Linked DNA regions of Homo sapiens: regions 1 and 2 are each linked to region 3. Evidence: promoter capture Hi-C in 16 types of primary human blood cells and fetal thymus (Javierre and others, 2016). All regions are on one chromosome and are shown on one strand. Each heading gives the region's core, a stretch centred on a gene start or on the middle of the fragment in contact. The rest is flanking DNA. Distances are from core to core; before and after follow the strand shown.

Evidence for each region. Contacts are between HindIII fragments. The CHiCAGO score rates a contact against its expected background, and 5 or more counts as called.
Region 1: a fragment that was not itself captured here is called in contact with the fragment with the promoter of SEPTIN7-DT in region 3 in 1 of 17 cell types (activated CD4 T cells); the score reaches 5.9 in activated CD4 T cells.
Region 2: a fragment that was not itself captured here is called in contact with the fragment with the promoter of SEPTIN7-DT in region 3 in 1 of 17 cell types (fetal thymus); the score reaches 9.0 in fetal thymus.

The regions. Positions count from the first base shown.
Region 1 is chr7:37,413,559-37,417,470 of GRCh38, reverse strand. The region is part of intron 1 of ELMO1 (engulfment and cell motility 1); the gene reads left to right. Among named protein-coding and RNA genes, the nearest start is that of ELMO1, 33 kb to the left of the region's middle. The HindIII fragment of the contact is 1,438 bases long and covers 1,327-2,764 here.
Region 2 is chr7:37,444,817-37,448,628 of GRCh38, reverse strand. All of the region lies in intron 1 of ELMO1 (engulfment and cell motility 1), which reads left to right. Among named protein-coding and RNA genes, the nearest start is that of ELMO1, 2.1 kb to the left of the region's middle. RefSeq lists silencers at 16-65, 76-125. The HindIII fragment of the contact is 1,545 bases long and covers 1,709-3,253 here.
Region 3 is chr7:35,798,538-35,802,822 of GRCh38, reverse strand. It overlaps SEPTIN7-DT (SEPTIN7 divergent transcript), which reads left to right and starts at 2,198. Exons shown (of 5, transcript NR_120512.1): 1 at 2,198-2,333. SEPTIN7 (septin 7) reads right to left here and starts at 1,766. Exons shown (of 14, transcript NM_001788.6): 1 at 1,553-1,766. The coding sequence starts at 1,613. RefSeq lists silencers at 855-1,304, 1,335-1,574 and enhancers at 1,725-2,114, 1,729-2,352, 2,475-2,534. The HindIII fragment of the contact is 5,766 bases long and covers 1-4,285 here.

The DNA of each region.
Region 1 (3,912 bases), core at 796-3,295, 1.6 Mb before region 3:
GCCAGATGGTCTCGATCTGCTGACCTCGTGATCCTCCCACCTCGGCCTCCGAAAGTGCTGGGATTACAGGCGTAAGACACCGCGCCTGGCCAATTTTTGCATTTTTTTAGTAGACATCTTCCTCTTTTTATAAAGATAACAGTCCTAGTGGGTTAGCACCTGCCCAAATGACCTCGTTTTAACTTGATTATGTCTGCAGAGACCTATTTCCAAATAAGGTCACATTCACAGATAGCAGGAAAGGACTTCAACGTGTCTTTCTCAGGGGACGCCTTTCCATGCATAACAGCTGCCTCTGGTCCAGTCTTTCTATCCCCTCTTCAGTGGTGTGTCCACCAGCAAAACTTCTGTGCCTCAGTTTCCTTGGCTGTAAAACGGTGCCCTCTTCTAGGATCGTTGAGAGAATTAAATGAAATCATGCTTGGCAGAGTATCACGCTCATAGAAAGTGCTCAGTAGGGGTTTAGCTTTTACAGCTAGTTGCTTGCAGTCATTTGATTTCATAAGCTAGGTTTGTGGAGAAACTGAGGAAGTGAATGAGCCAAACACAAAAGTAAACACTGTTGATAGGACAGGTGGTTAACTCTTTCAGTGCCACAAAACACATTCTGACTCACCTGCACACAAATTTTGCTTACAAGATTGTTGTCAGCACTAATTTTGCTCCAAGTATTTGCTTGATTAAAATCTCTTATGCTACTCTTTGCAGCTGACCTATAACAGAAATAAATGAACTAACTAGAGATACTTTCTTCGTTGGGCTTCCATCTAGAGCTAAGCTTTACTTAGGCTTTCAAATTGTAAGCAAATGCAAAATAACTCTCTTGGGAAAATTCCAGAGAATCTAGGCCTTGAGCTGTTGTAAGCAAATGTGGCCCTCCTTTTAGGGCGGGAATCTAAGAAATGGAGATTATGCATTATCCAGTTCCAGGGGCATCATTCATACTGTGGTCTGTGCGTGTGCATGGACAAGCCTGCTCCTCTGGGTGAGGTGGCCATAGGTCCTTTCTGGGGTTCAGTAAGTTCTGATAGTGGCATTGTCATGGTGTGAAACCTCTCATTCTCCCAGTTTAATTATTCAGTGAGAATGGGATTCCTGAGATTCTAAACCATATTCCATAACTTTGGAAAATATATGTGTATATAAAATTTTCCATACGGTTAAAACCTGAGAGTGGACTGCAAGTCAAATTGCTATTTTCTTCCCTGCTTCGTCTTTGTGAACTTCGTATTGTCAGTTTTCCTGACAGTTGACAAAAGTGGGCAGTTTTGGTGGCATATCTGATTTAGGAAGTAAGTGCAACAATTTGAAAGCCTAAGTAAAGCTTAGCTTTAGATGGAAGCCCAATAAAGGAGTTATCTCTAGTTAGTTCATTTATTTCTGTTGTAGGTCAGCCGCAAATCTGAAAACACAGGTTTGAATTTGTATGCTCATTTAATGTTACTGATAATCTGAAATGCTGGTTTTTAGGACTGTAGATTTCATTATGGAATATGTTTTTAACTTAATTTGTACATGGGTCTCTTGTTGTTTTGGGAATTTTGTTCTAAGACATGTTGAAGCTGTGCTGTAGTTATTGGGTTTATGAGTTGTTGGGGTATTATTTATTTTTAATGTACTCTGTTCCTTCCTCTTCCCAAAGCAAATAATCAAGAATTAATGTTTAACTTTAAGTTGGATCCACTCACTTTATATTGAGAGTTATTATTACTTTAATTCACGTTTCTTTTCCCTGAAGCCCTGATATATCTTTGGGAAGATACATTTTTTCATGCATTAATTATTTTCTTTTCCAGTATCAATTGCAGATATTACAATCACAGCAAGAAACATCTGTTGTACCTTTATTATGTGCCAGGTACTGTGCTGCCTGCTTTATATGAATTATTATTACGATCATTAAATTTTTATATCCACGCTAGACTTTACATACTGTCTATCATAACTCACATTTTATAATAAGGACTTGAGACTGGGGAAATAAACTTGCCAAGTCGACACAATTTAAAAGTGGTAGAGCCAAGAGTTGAACTCACGTAGTCTCTGACTCTGGAACTATGCTCTTAAACCCTACACTCTTGATGTTGAAGATGTAGGGACATCTTTGCATTTGAAGACAGAAATGCACATACAGCCCAGAACTTTTCAGTGATTCCAAAGACCTCTGTATTTTCACGTAACATAACTTTGGAAGCCACAGATTCGCTTTGCTCAATCTATTTTGTTCAGGAGTACATGCATGCTAATTTGCTCAGGCAGTAGCTGAAAGCAGTGAGAGATATTCCAACAAGGCTCCAGATTGCAAGAGAAATGAGTGTGGATTTAAAAATTAACAGGCTTTGTATGCATATAACTAAGAATCAGCTTACTTGCCATGAAGATGAGTACCAAGGCCCCAAAGTATGTATGTCAGAAGGTAGGATATTACTTGGTTTTGTGTAATTGGTAATACCAAGGTCAAATCAACTTAGATAACTGGTTTAAACCATTAAATAGCTTTTTTGGCTTTAGATATTTCTCAAGATTTTTACTGCAAGCTACGTGCATTGCAGTCTGCAGGAAGAAAAAAAAGGATTATTAGTGTTTTTGCAATGTTCCTGCCCAGCGTTTACTTCTTTATTTGCTCTTGTTTTATTCCCACAGGGAAAGGTTCATTGTAACATACCCAGGGATGTGTGGTAGATTTTTCCAATGCAGCAGGTAGAATGACTTTGATGGTAAGAAACAGAAAATTGAATGCCGACTGGCTTAAACAATAAAAGCTTATATCATTGAAAAGATTAGAGGTATGGTGAGTTACAGAATTAGATTGATTCAGCCACTCTCTGGGTCATTTAGGGTTTCTTTTTTTCTGTCTCTGCCAAACAGGATTGGACTTTGGAGTTGGCCACAGGGCAGATTCCCCCAACACACCAGCAGGGTGGCGATCAGAGAATGCCAGAACAAACATTAGATAATTTTTAAGAAGAGTGACTTGGTGTATGTGTGCCCCAACAAGTATCCACCATAGCCAGTGACCTGGATATGCTTAATTTAGATTAATGAATTTATCCGTCCTCTCTCTTCTCCACCTTGTAGGTGTTAATATTCTACATGTAATGTACAGGGGTTTTCCCCCTCGGATATTTTTGGTGAATATTTCTGTAGTTGTCCCTAAACATAGAAAGATTTTCCAGCAGGATACTAAGAGGTACTGTTTAGCATATTTCAATTTCCCATTACCAATCCCACAGACCTGATAAGATATGGATGTTGGCTGCTAATATCAAATAATGTTTTCTAATTTTCTTAGTGGAAAATGAATGGAATGAATCATTCAAATGAATTCCATGATTCATTATGGAATCATTCACTCAATATTATTTTGATATTAAATGATATTAATTATATTAAAATATTATTTTGATATTAAAGTGGAGGTAAATTGACTTCTGTCATATACCTTTTCACTTTGCTACTTCACAGTTTCCCTCTGTTCTTGCCATGCTGAAGTGGCCTGGTGTGGTGGCTAACATCCCTAATCCCAGCACTCTGGGAGGGCGAGGCAGGCAGATCACTTGAGACCAGGAGTTCCAGACCAGAATAGGCAACGTGACAAAACCCCATCTCTACTAAAAATACAAAAATTAGCCAGACGTGGTGGTGTGCGCCTGTAATCCCCGCTATTTGGGCGGCGGAGGCACAAGAATTGCTTGAACCCAGGAGGCAGAGGTTGCAGTGAGCTGAGATCACGCCACTGCACTGTAGCCTGAGTGACAGAGCAAGACTCTGTCTCCCCCACAACTGCCCCCAAAAAAGGAAAGTGCTGAAGGGTGTTTTCCTGAGTGACATGCTGGAACTTTAGATGGCAAGAAAAAGAGAGCTAAGGGCATACTTTGCATGTTACCTGGATGCTCATTTTTGGCCAAGGGG
Region 2 (3,812 bases), core at 1,232-3,731, 1.6 Mb before region 3:
TCGGCGCGGCAGGGGAGGGGGCCGGGACTGGGGCCGGGAGGAGGCGTCCTGCTCCGGGGGACTCCGGGCGCCGCGGAGACACTTTTGTTTCCTCCCTGGGGGCGCCGCGGCTCGGGCGGGGGTGGCCGCCGCGCTCGGCAGGGTGAGGGCTGCGGGCGCGTCGGGGCGCTCTGCAGTTGGGGAAGTCTGAGCTCCGGGGATGGCGGGAGTGGGAGTGGGAGCGGAGGGAGGGGGCGCTGGAGGTGCGGCGCCCGCGGATGAAGCGCAGGGCCCGGGGCCCGGGAGCCCGCCGAGACATTTCGACCAGGGTCTGCGGGAGGGGGGGCGCGGGAGGGTTGCGACGCTGGCGCGGGGTTACTGGGGACGGGGGATGTGGGGCTGGGATCTTGGAGTCAAGATTCCTATAGAGCTAGAGAAGCGGCTGCGGCTCAGACTCGGCGTCTTCTCCTGCACTCGGGGATGGGAGGGAATCCCCCGGCGAGCGCGCTCGTGGGAGGGGGCGGTGATGGGCCAGAGGAATGGGGGCCAGGAGGGCCGGAGAGGGCGGTCTGGGCAGCCGGGAGCCCCTGAGGTTCTGGTTAGTAAATACTCTCCTCCCGGGGACACACCGGGGTCTCCGCCGAGACCGAGAGAGGCGGCGGGGAGCTTTGTGGAGCTTCGTGGAAATCTCGGCTTCGGAGAGGGGACGCACCGGGCGCGCCTTCAGAGAAGGGGGCGGCGGCATGCCAGGGGGCCCGGGAATCGGAGCGGAGAGTGGCGACTGCGATCGCCGGAGTCGCTTTGAGGAAGAGGAAATACAGAACTCAGCTGTCCCGGGGGTGCGCGCGTGTGTTTGGGGTTGGGAAGTCGGTGCTGTGCCGCGAGCGCGCGCGAGGCGGCGTGTGTGTGTGTGTGTGTGTGTGTGTGTGTGTGTGGTGTGTGCGCGCGCGCGTATGTATGTGTGTGTGGTGTGTCGTCGGTGTGTGTGTGAGTGTGTGTGTGTGGGGGGGGTGTTGTGGGTGTGTGTGTGAGTCGGTGTGTGTGTGTGTGACCGCACAGCCAGGAACTCCCCGCCCAGTGACCCTCTCCCGCCTAGGGGGCCATTTGAAGTTGGAGGCGGGTCGGGACCTGCCTTGACCTAAAGGACCAGCCTCAGGCTTGGTCCCAGGTAGTGACCCAGCTCTGAGAGTCCCTGGACGGCTCCCGAGACTCAGTGAATATATTTGGGATGCCCCCCGCGCTGGATCATGGGCTTCCCAACACCGCTGGCCTTGAATGATTCGGGCCTAATTCGTTATGGTTAAGATTTCAGATAATCTAAGACGGGTTGAGGCCTCCAGAAGCGGAGGCTTCCTGTTGGGCGCTGCCAGTGACTTGGGGATGAAGCTATGGAAGAATATCTGAGTGTTTCTCTTTTGCTTCTATAAAAGTAATTAATGACCTGTATTTACACACCAAAACCCTGCGAGCAACTTTGGGACATAGAGGGATATAATCCTTCTCAGAATCACTTTGAGATTGCAAAAACCGGCAGCAGCTATTATTGGGGTCTCCTCTGGCCAGGGTTCTCATATTATCTCACCTCCATGCCTACTTTCCAAGGTTGTTTCAAGCATTAATGTCCCATAATTTACAGATCTGGGGGAAAATAATGGTAAGTTAGGAGGCCAGATCCCCTGCAGAAACATCACATATTTTTAATTTTTCTTATAGCTGACCTTTTGAAGCTTTACTCTTTATTATTGTACATTTCCTATCTCTGGAAGGCTGTGGTTAAATGTGCATGCTGCCTTGTTTCTACTCTGTTTTGTTTGTTTTTATTAGGTTGGTAAATTTTGAGAAAATGACCTGGACTGCTGGGACTCTTGGGGAGGGGTTGTGTCAGGAGGGTACTGAACTGGAGAACAAGAAGTATGGTAGGTATCAGGGAGGGGCAGGCTCGGAGGCAGACCCGGATGGGAGTCTGGGGAAACTCAGGGCCTGGAGCAGTCATTGGGCAAGAAGATGGGCAGTTCTAGTGATGGTCATGCTTACTGTCCTTGGTAACTGCAGGCACCCTCACCGTCTTACATTCTTCTTTTTCACTGAGTTCTCTCCCTAGGGCCTTTGCCCATGATATTACAGGAGGAGCTTTTCTCCCACATGTCCAGATGACTCACTTCCCCTGCTTCTTTCAGGTCTCTGTCCAGTTGTCAGCTTATAGGGGGCCTTCCCTGGCTACCCCATATAAAATAGCAGCCAGACACTCCCTGGGCCTCTTATGTTACTCAGTTTTTTGTCTTAGTACCTTTTACTCCCTGGCATTATACAGTCATTGGTGTATTTTGAGTATTGTCTCTCTCCCTGTTAGAGCAGAAGTTCCATGAGGGTAGTGACTACCTTGTCTTGTTTACAGCTCCAGAACCTGGATGGATTCTTAGCATGATGTCGGTGCTCAATAAGTGTTTGTTGACTGACTAAATGAGAGGTGGCTATACTGGGAGAGATCCACCAGGGAAATATACCAGGAAAATGTTGCAGCATTAGTGCAAGTGAGAAGCCCAGGTAATGGGCTTTTGCTTTTTTCGCTGTCCTTTCCCCCATGCCAGGCCACTCTTCTTTTAGACTCTGTTCTGCCTTGAGTAGACTCCTCCCTTTTTCTGCCTGAAGAAAGGAACAGAGAGGTGATTCCTTGGGAGATTAGATAACCAGTACACTTAATGACACATAACCATTCCAGATCTGGTGTTTCATCACTCTCCTTGGAGAAGGTCTTTTAAAGAAGTCTGTGTTGCTTTAGCCTAGGAGGAAGGGCATGATTGTAAGGGGATTGAAGTCAGAGGCATCTACTGTGTCCCATTCTGCTCTCCTACAATATGGAAGTGAAGACAGGAGGCTGTAAGGGAGGCTGTGTGGCAGATGCAGGGGAGATGAGAAATGCCTAGGAGAAGAAAAATAAAAGTGAGAAAACATTAAGGTGTTCTGCAGGTGCAGCTAAGTCTTGAACATTTACTAAATTACTATATTGAAAAGAAGCTAACTCTTGAGTGTTTCAAAGTAATTTAACCCCTTTGGGTGTTTGGTGTGAGTGGGTGGGGCGGGTGGGGAAAGGGCTTTGAAGCCTTTGCTGAAGGATGTGGCTGGGGGTGAGGCAAGGAGCTCACCTGATCACACACTGTGCTTACTTCATCAGGTTGCCTAATGCTCAAGGGTTAAAGGTGATCATTCCTATGGAGGTAACATTTCCCTTCCAGATCTAAGACAGTGGATACAATTAAGGTTTGTAACTCAAGCTTGTAACCACTTTTTGGTGCCTGAAACCATCCAAGTAGATAGTTTGGTTTATAAGACATTCTGTTGAATCTGGAAAACGTGGTGGATTAAGAAACCCTCTCTGCATCACAAAGCCTGGAGTGTTTGCTACTAATTGTGCAACTTTAGTTCTGGTTCCTTCTAGTCAACCAGAGAAGTGCTTTTTAAGCTTACGGCTGTAACCCATGAGCGGATCATGATATCACTTTAGTAGGCCAAGACCAGCAGTTTAAAATGTGAAAGAGAAGAGTGGTGTGGAAAACAGCATTTCATAAAACAGACACCCAGTCTTAATGTCAAAGTATTGCTCAGTGTAGGTAACGATTTTAAAAAGCCTGTTTCAATAATTCTGGGGAAAACTACATTTTTAACCAACTTGCCAGGGATTCTGATGACGACGTTCTAGAGGGCTACAAGAAATACTTAGCTATCTCCTTTTAACAAAATACTGTTGGTTTAACCCCCTGCAGGAGATGCTATTTCCAAATGTTGAACCAGATGCAGTTCTGTCGGCTATTGACTTAACTTTTCAAAATGCTACT
Region 3 (4,285 bases), core at 949-3,448:
ACCACCCCCCCATCACCACCCAACCACCCCTTACTCATTCCCTTGCAGTCTGAAGAAATAAAGAATCCAAGCAGCAATAGCTGACTTGGTCATTGTTTATATCCCCCCTTCAGTCTATCAGGATTCCATAAATTTCATCCCTACCTGTACACTTTTAAGTCTAAAATACTCTCCTCCCCATGTCTGCACATAAACTTTAGGGGGAAAAACTGACTATACTCATCACCTGCATGTGCATAAATATGTAAAACAGGTTAGATGCTTAGTAATTTAGATGATCTGTTCATTTACATTCTCAGGGGCACTAACAAAGATATTTTTTCCTTTCATCAAAATAAAAAAGCCAGAAGAAAGAATTCTTAAAGCTGAACTATTTAGCAATAAACTCAAGAAATGTAGTAAGTTATTATTTCAGTAACTAAGAAAACACCTGGACGTCACAAATTCTTTCCTAGGACTGTAAAAACCCAAATTTGAAACAGTGTACTCTTCAAAAGTAACTCAGCAAATGGAAATGTCCTAGAAAAATCTCGGTTGCTTATTTCTTACTATACACACAGCTGAAATGGAACTCAGGAGTGGAAAATGTAAATGAAATGGCCTGTTCTTTTTCCAACATGTGGGGGAGGAAAGGAAATGAAAGGGCTCGTTAAGAGAATAACTGAGAATATTGAAATATTTTCAAAAATTAATTTCCCTAAACTTCGCCACTCCACATCTCCGCTCCCTCCCTTTTCCAAGGACCCTTCCCACCCTTTCTATCTCCTCCGGGGGGCGCCCTTCCCAGGCGTTCTCTTTCCCTTACTCCTAAAAATTAAGCCCAAATTCCAAACCAAACTACCGATTCTCCCTCCGTTCTCAAGACTCGCCCGCCATCCACCGGCCTTCCGGGCTGCGCCTGGAGAGAGGCAACCCCGAGAGGCGGGAGGAGGAGCGGGGAGGCGACGCGGTGACTGGAGCTGCGGCTGCAGCCGCCGCCGCCGCCTCCACCACAGCCTCAGCCTGGTGCATCCTTCTTCCTCCCTCCCCGCCGCCGCCCGCCCGGGTTGGCCCACACAGCACCCTCGCCCGAGCGTTCACACTCGTCCCCACCCTCCTAGCCAGGCCCACTGCCCCACGAGGGGACTTCTGCCGACGGGGATGCGGCCGGGGACAGGAGGAAGCGGGGCCGCGGAAGCCGGCGGGCCCGGGAGGAGACTGAGGAAAGGCGAAGGGACGGAGAGAAGCAAGGGCAGGGCTGAGACCACCACGCTCAGGCTGCTCCGGCCGCGGAGGCCGCGGCTCTGCGCCGGGGGCCAGCCCGCCGCGGCACAGGAAATGCCGCCGCCTCGGCTCTCCTCACGTTCAATTCAAACTGTCACCGCCGCCGCCTCCCCTCCCCCCGAGCCCGCCGCTGCCGCGCCCCGGGCCCGCAGTGGCCCCCATCCCGGCTCCCCTCGCCGCTGCCTCCGCCTCGCCTCAGGGCGTTCCCTAGCTCGGTCCAGCGGCCGCAGAGCTTCCCGGCATTCGGAGCCGCTGACCCCAAGTCGCGGCACCCGAAGCTGAGACTCACCCATGGTGCTGCTGTTGACGCTCCTCTCCTCAGCAGCAGCGGATCTCGCACTGACCGACATCCCCTCCCCCCCTCCGCGACCAGCCCCAGCGGAGCGCAGCCCGCCGATTCTCCAAAGGCGCCTACGCCGATTCCGCAGCGTAGCCGCCCGGCGTAGCTGCCTTGCTTACGCACGCTACAGCAGGCGGACTCCTCCACAGGCTCTCGCTCGACTCCCGCTCCCTCCTCCGTCCCCCGCCCCCTCAGACGAGGCTTCCGGGCCTAGCGGAGGCTGGCTTCCATCTCGCGAGATTACCGCCTCCCCAGCTCCGCCGCCTCGCTCCATTTCGAGCATGACTTCATTGGCGTCAGCAACGTTTTGCTGTTCGGGTTTAGCCGCCATGTTTAAGTTGGCCGGGTTTCGCACCACTGAGGTCATGGATACTCAGGCCTCTTTGCGTGTTTCTTCAACACTGCTTCTAAGGTTAACCGCGTTACATTTGTTGGAGAAAATCCTGGGAACGCTGAAAAGGACTAGTGGGTGGGGTGCGAGGGTGGGGTCTTGCCCGAATTAAAGATGGCCGCAGTCAGCTCTGCCCCGCGCAATTTCACGTCAAGTTTTGGAGCTGCGGGAGCCGGCCAGTTGGCCTCAGCGCCTCCTTACGGAATTGGCGTAAGGCAAAGAGGCGCGGCTGGAAGAACCAGACTGAGAAAGTGCCACAGGGCGGGGGCCGCATCCGCCCCTCGGCTTCTGGTTACTGACCCGACGGCTTTGTGAGTGAAAGTGAAGAGACACTTCGAGGCAGGTGTCTGTGCTCCCCATTCATCCCTGTTTCCGTGGCTATCTTGACTTTCGGGGTGAAAAGTGAGGTTAGGCCCTGTTTCCCCGACCCTTCCCTCGCGCCATCACACTCTAGTGGCCTGGCACAGCCCCAGAGGTCGGCCGCTGTAGCCCCCATTGCGGACTCGCCACATTCATATTGGCTCACCTTGTCGGTGCCCGGTTCGGTCCTCTTGGAGCTCACACTCCAGTTGAGGAAATGAATGGACACAGGAACTACTGGGTAACAAAATACTAATAAAGGGCTGCGATTGTGTGAGTTTCTACTGTAGCGATGAATGTCGCTGTCATTGGAACGTTCCCCAAGTGCCTTCTAGTGAAAGCCTTACTTCACTCGGAATAACCTGTGGTCTTTTCTTGAACGTGATGGCTCTCTTGGTTGTATTCTTCATGCACATGTGTTACTTTTCCTGTTTAACTACATGTTAAAGAAATGTGTATGTTCCTGTTTAACTGCATGTTTTAAAAAAGTATGTGTATTTTTAAGTTATAGGCACGTGCAAGAAAGTTCAGAGCAAAATAGCTTATATTAGTGAAACAATAAATGTCTACTAATAGGAGAATGGATGAATAAGTGTCATTGTTGAACAAATTGACATACAACACGAACCAAAAAATCAGTGAACTAAAGCTACCATTTTTCATATGGATAGAGTCATTAACCTAATATTGAGGAAGAAATGAAAAGACAGGTTGCGGAAAGATATATATGACATACCATAAATAAAAGTTTAATAATTACAAAAAAGTAAGATCAAACTAAAAATTGTATAAGGAAATGATAGATACCAAATTCAGAATACTGGTTGCTTCCAGAGATGAACAGAAGGGAATGTAACAAGAAGGGTTCATTTGTATCTATAACGTTTGTTTTCTACCAGAAATATCTTGAAAATGTGGCAAAACATTAAGCTAAGTAGAGGGCACATGGGTGTTCACTTGTAATTATTTCCTTTACTGTTCTATATACTTGAAATATTTCCAAGTAATTTTTTTTAAGAAAAGAAACTTATAGAAGCAACTTATTTTGTATCTTGATATATGCCATTTCGTAAGTCTACATTTTTACTGAACTGCTTATGAAGTCTGTTGCAACTTATCTGTTCAATCATTGTTTTAAGTTTCTGAAACTTCAAATGAACTTTTACTTTGGGAAATTTTGTTGAATTTCTATTTTTGAAAAAAAGCAGTGTACCAAGGAGGGTAAATGTATATAGCCTCCGGAGTCAGACTGCCTGAGTTCAAATCCCAGCTCTCCATTTATTAGGCTTGCAACCAAGAACAAGTTACTTAAACTTTCCTGTGATCCAGTTTCCTCATCTATAAACGGAGATAATACTTATCTAACAGGATTTTGATAAGAGTTAAATAGACTAATACATGAACACGGTGCTTAGTCAATGCTTAGTAAATATTACCTAAATATAGATTATTTTAAAATATAAAATTAAAGCAAATACTTATATTAATATAACCTAATAGTCTAAAGGAAGTAAATCTTTGCCTCCCATCTCTATTGATAATATTTCTTTGAGGAAGATCTCTTAATGGGTATGAAAGAGGTGAATTGTGTTATTTTGTGCTATGAAAATGGATAAATTCTTAATAGAAACTATATTAAATTCCTTGTCTGAAGTTTGTTCATGTTCACCCCACACTATGATAGCTTCACTACTTTTCATTGAAAATCACACAGAGTGGCCGGGCGCGGTGGCTCACGCCTGTAATCCCAGCACTTTGGGAGGCCGAGGCAGGCAGATCGCCTGAGGTCAGGAGTTCGAGACCAGCCTGGCTAACATGGTGAAACCCCGCATCTACTAAAAATACAAAAAATTAGCCGGGTGTGGTGGCGGTACCTGTAATTCCTGCTACTCGGGAGACTGAGGCAGGAGAATCACTTGAACCCAGGAGGC